Regions from separate parts of the Homo sapiens genome. Here region 1 is linked to region 2. The links are contacts of gene promoters, found by promoter capture Hi-C in human tissues and cell types (Jung and others, 2019). All regions are on one chromosome and are shown on one strand. The core of a region is centred on a gene start or on the middle of the fragment in contact, and the rest is flanking DNA. Distances in the headings are between cores, read along the strand shown.

Region 1 (2,700 bases), core at 96-2,595, 58 kb after region 2:
ACTGTGGATACGATCCCTTTAGAACCTGCTTCTCTGATCTGTGTGTTTCCTCACTTCTCAATAAAAATGTCTTTTGCTTTTTGTTGTTTGGGTTTTTTTTTTTTTTTTTTTTTTTTTTTTTTTGAGACTAAGTTTCACTCTTGTCCTCCAGGCTGGAATGCAATGGCATGATCTCAGCTCACTGCAACTTCCACCTCCTGGGTTCAAGCAATTTCCTTGCCTCAGCCTCCCAAGTGGCTAGGATTACATGCCTGGCTAATATTTGTATTTTTAGTATAGACGGGGTTTCACCATGTTGGCCAGGCTGGTCTTGAACTCCTGACCTCAGGTGATCTGCCCACTTCAGCCTCCCAAAGTCATGGGATTACAGGTGTGAGCCACCGAGCCCGGCCAGCTTTCTATTTCTTATAACCTAAGGGCTTTAACTGATCAGTTGTTGCCTTGGTAGCATGTAGTTAACAAAGTGGGGTATATGATTTAGGTTTGTTTGTTTTTCCTGAGACAAGAAAATCACATTCTTGTTTATATTTGAAGATAGCAACTTTTAGCCATCATGTGAAATATGGTTATTGTTTCTGTACACCTGGAACGTTGTAGTGCCTGATACTGAAATTTTGGAAACACTGAAGAATTATAGCATTATAAGAATTTTAAATTTATGAGAAAATCTGAGACAGGGGCAGAGATGGCTGATTTTGATCTTGCTGGATCTTAGACCATGAGAATGACAGGCCTGAAGCCCTGAAATCTCACCTCAGGGTGGAGTGTCAGACTTGGCAACTTTGACATTGCTGAAAAAGTTTCTTACAGCTGTAGGAGTGAGGTGGTGGGAATCAAATAGTATATTTGGCTTGGTGAATTAAAGTCAGTTCACCTCAAATGTTTACTAAATCCCTTAATGTAAACATGTGTTGAAAAAGTTATCCTCACCCTTCCCCCCCTCAAAAAGTTATCCCTTGATAATTTGAATAGGAATATCTGGGAAGAACCTGAGGACTCAGCCTAGCAAGCTCTTGTGATAGACTTTGAATAGCAGTATCTGCGAAGAACCTGAGGCCTCAGCCTAGCAAACTCTTCTGATAGACTTTGAATAGGAATGTCTGGGAAGAACCTGAGGACTCAGCCTAGCAAACTCTTCTGATAGACTTTGAATAGGAGTATCTGGGAAGAACCTGAGGACTCAGCCTAGCAAACTCTTCTGATAGACTTTGAATAGGAATGTCTGGGAAGAACCTGAGGACTCAGCCTAGCAAACTCTTCTGATAGACTTTGAATAGGAGTATCTGGGAAGAACCTGAGGACTCAGCCTAGCAAACTCTTCTGATAGACTTTGCACTGCAGATGCTTCATTTAAGGCTATAGAGTAGATGTTGGCAATATATAAAATTCAAACTTGAGTGTCCATAAATAACTGTTGTTGGAACATGGCTAAATATATTTGTGTATTATTTGACTGCTTTTGCACAGCCATGGCACAGTTGAGTAGTTGAGGTATAAAAAACCTGCCACCTCCTGATACAGATAGAACCCCTTCCCTTTTCTGGGAAAATGTGGAATTTGCCTTGCAGGAGGAAGCTTATTCTGCCAGTTCCCCATGGCTTATTTTTACCAGTTTGGTAACAATAATCTACACTAAACATGCCCTGGGATGGGATTGCTCATTTAGGAAAATATGTAGAATTCATAGAGCATTGCAGGAATGAGTAATGTATCAAAACTTCTCAGCATGACAACACCCAGGGCAACGTGACAAAACCCTGTCTACAAAAGTTTCTTAAAAGCTGGTTACAGCGGTGCACACCTGCAATCCCAGCTACTCAGGAGGTTGAGGCAGGAGGATCACTTGAGCCCAGGAGGTCAAGGATGCAGTGAGCTGCACTGTACTCCAGTCTGGGCAACAGTGAGACCCTGTCTCAAAAAAAAAGTTGGGGGAGGGGGTAGATACTTGTGAAATCCTTTGAGGGTGTTCAGTGAAGGGCAATTACTTACAGCATATACTTGGTGCACTGACACCCAGCAGTGATGATGGTTTTGCTTTCTGTTTTTTTTTTTGTTTTGTTTTGTTTTTTTTTTTTTTTGAGACGGAGTCTTGTTCTGTCACCCAGGCTGGAGTGAATTGCACAATCTCGGCTCACTGCAACCTCCGCCTCCTGGGTTCAAGCGATTCTCCTGCCTCAGCCTCCATAGTAGCTGGGATTACAGGTGTGTGCCACCGCGCCTGGCTAATTTTTGTATTTTTAGTAGAGACGGGGTTTCACCACGTTGGCCAGGCTGGTCTTGAATTCCTGACCTCAGGTAATCCACCTGCCTCGGCCTCCCGAAGTGCCGGGATTACAGGCGTGAGCCACCATGCCTGACCATGATGATGGTTTTAAAAGTTAGCTGTAGCAGCTAAGGCAAGACCAGATCCAACACTGGCTTATGGCAAGGGGAAGAACAAAAGTCAGGAACTTTGCCATAATCTAGAAGAAAGAATGATAATGCTTTGTGACATGCTGGATTGTATCCATTATGTGTTCCTAAGACCCTCAGCCCTCTCCCTCCACCAAGACCCAATAAAAGTGTGTTATTGAAAGTAGTAGCTACTGGCCGGGCGTGGTGGCTCACGCCTGTAATCCCAGCACTTTGGGAGGCCAAGGTGGGTGGATCACAAGGTCGGGAGTTCGAGTTCAGCCTGGCCAATATGGTGAAATCCCGTCT
Region 2 (2,700 bases), core at 196-2,695:
TAACTTACATCCAGACTCCCTTGTCACAAATACACAGCGCCATTCCTAATGCTTCCATCATAAGATCCCCAAACACAAGCACAGAAACAAACCCCAGCCACTCGCCAGCATAGGCCACCCCATACTCGCCTCCGCTATTGGAGACAGGGGTTGAAAGAGCAACCACTGTTATTCAGCTGTCAAATAAAACATACAACTGGACAGAGCAAAGAAAGACGGTTCCAAAGGGTTATTGGAAGTGGGGAAAAAAAGACGCGGAAGAGGGTTGGGAAGGGGAAGGAGAACGGGCTTCTGGGAAGAACCGTGAAGCCACGAGACTCACGTGCATCTCTGCAAGGCAAAAAGGGTTTTTCTTTCACAGAGAGGTGTGAACAAGGTTAGCAAAGACCAGGCCTGGCCAAGCGAGGTGGAAGTGCGGGCGACCAGACAGCAGAGCGGGGAAAGCTTGACCCTGAGCCAGCCTGTTCTCAGGCGAGGCTGCGTGTTGGCTCAGGCTGGGGATGGGCCAAAGCTCAAGAAAATGGGGAAAGGAAAGAAGCTTAGCTAAAGTTTGCTTAAGGAGCATTTTGCTCCGACCGCTCGGTGGAGTTCAGCCAGTCACCGATGAGGCAAGCGACGGCAACGTGGCAGGTCTGTGTGAACAAGGGGCATCCTGGAGGCTGACCAAAGTCATATAGGGAACGGGAGATCTTTGCAGTGAGCCATTTGCTGGAACCCAAAAGGGTGGGAAATTCCTCAACCTTCGCTGTTTTCCAGGAGCACAGGGCTCTGGTGAAATCCAACACTGTCACAGCCGGCAGGCTTTCCAGTGAATGGAACCCACACAAGCAAGCCCCTAAGCCCTCCAACGCAGGCCCCCGCAGAAGCCTCATCATTCACCCCGCTGGCCTCCAATGCTCACCCAAAGGCATCCAAATCATTCATCAGCAGAGTCCTAATCGCTGCAGACAAATCCTCCACACGGCCTCCCAGGGGCCCCTCTCCCCTGGGGCCAAGGGCAACCTCGCGTCCCCTTGCCCCGCCCGTGCTGCACCCCAAGTCTACAGCGACCTCCATAGGCCCCCAGTGAATCGCCCAGCTGACCCCAAATCTCCCCCGACACCCACATTCAGCGCCCCGCCGCCGCCCGCCCTACAGCCCCCACCCCACCCTCTGCCTCCCACCCCCGCGCGCCCCCAGAGCCCCCGCCTGAGGCCCGCCTTCCGCGCATGCGCCCAGGCCGGTCCGCAGGCCTTTCTCGCCCCAGCCGGCAGCCAGCTCGTTCGCGCTGGGGTCACCGCGAGCCGGTCCGCAGCGGGGTCACCGCGATCCCCGGCGCAGACACAGAGGCCGCCCCCAGCCCCGCCGCCTCGTGGTCCCGCCCCCGCTGCACGCTCCCTTACCCCTCGGACCTCGCAGGGCCGCGGCGGACACGGCCCGATCGGGGACGTGAACGCGCAGAACTACATTTCCCAGCGTCCCGCTCGCGCTGGAACTACACTTCCCGGGGGGCTCGGCGGTGCACCCGCCGGGGTCGCGGATTGGAGGTTTCCGGTTGGAAAAGCCCCTTGGCGGCTAACTGGGGAGGACTGGAAGAAATCTAGGATGGAGCCAGCACTGCTGGCCCAACATGTCTGTGAGAGAACCTAAAGGCGCCTCCAGGAGGAAGCGTCTGCATCTTTTCCTTGTTTTTTTTTTTTTTTTTTTTGGAGGCAGGGTCTCGCTCTGTCACCCAGTGGGGAGTGCAGTGGTGCCATGAACGCTCATTGCAGCCTCAGGCTGGTCTCCGACTCCTGGGTTCAAATGATCCTCCTGCCCCAGCCTCCCAAAATGCTGGAATTACAGGCATGAGTCACTGCGTCCGGCTGCTTTTCCATTTTTCATCGTAGCTGTAAGTAATATCGGTAAATGTTAGTGTTACGTGCGTCCGTATAGGAGACCACCTGAGCAGGCTAAGTGTGAGCAACACGCCTGTTTATTCACTTGGGTGCAAGTGGGCTGAGTCTGAGAAAGGAGTCAGCGGAGGGTGGTGGGCTTGTCATTGGTTCTTATAGCTTTGGGATAGGATAGGCGGTGGAGTCAGCAGCAATTTTTTTTTTTTTTTTTTTTTTTGAGACAGAGTCTCACTCTGTCGCCGAGGCTGGAGTGCAGTGGCGCGATCTCGGCTCACTGCAAGCTCCGCCTCCCGGGTTCACGCCATTCTCCTGCCTCATCCTCCTGAGTAGCTGGGACTACAGGCACCCGCCACCACGCCCGGCTAATTTTTTTGTATTTTTAGTAGAGACGGGGTTTCACTGTGTTAGCCAGGATGGTCTTGATCTCCTGACCTCGTGATCCGCCCTCCTCGGCCTCCCAAAGTGCTGGGATTACGGGCGTGAGCCACCGCGCCCGGCCTCAGCAGCAATTTTTTGCGGGCAGGGGAGGATGTTACAAAGTACATTCACAAGGGCGGGGAGGGTGTATTGTCACAAGGGCGGAGAGGAATGTTACAAAGTACATTCACAAGGACCGGGAATATTACAAAGTACATTATCACAAGGGTGGGGGAATGTCACGATGGCTTGACCATGGTGCGGCCAGCTCAGAGGACCTTACATTTAGTACATCCAATCCAGCAGTATTGACAAAAGGAATGAAAATAGATGATAGGGTTGGGCGCGGTGGCTCACGGCTGTAATCCCAGCACTTTGGGAGGCTGAGGTGGGCGGATCACCAGGTCAG

What was found. Contacts are between HindIII fragments. The study calls those that stand out against the background at their distance.
Region 1: a fragment that was not itself captured here is called in contact with the fragment with the promoter of ZNF605 in region 2 in 2 of the 25 tissues and cell types used here (IMR-90 fibroblasts and stomach).

What each region holds. Positions count from the first base shown.
Region 1 is chr12:133,012,487-133,015,186 of GRCh38, forward strand. ZNF26 (zinc finger protein 26) reads left to right here. Exons shown (of 4, transcript NM_019591.4): 4 at 1-2,700. Among named protein-coding and RNA genes, the nearest start is that of ZNF84-DT, 23 kb to the right of the region's middle. The HindIII fragment of the contact is 5,610 bases long and covers 1-2,700 here.
Region 2 is chr12:132,954,861-132,957,560 of GRCh38, forward strand. ZNF605 (zinc finger protein 605) reads right to left here and starts at 1,446. Exons shown (of 5, transcript NM_183238.4): 1 at 1,383-1,446. It overlaps LOC124903064 (a long non-coding RNA gene), which reads left to right and starts at 1,689. Exons shown (of 2, transcript XR_007063552.1): 1 at 1,689-1,870. RefSeq lists enhancers at 164-994, 423-717, 995-1,823, 1,577-1,656 and a silencer at 1,077-1,416. The HindIII fragment of the contact is 15,452 bases long and covers 1-2,700 here.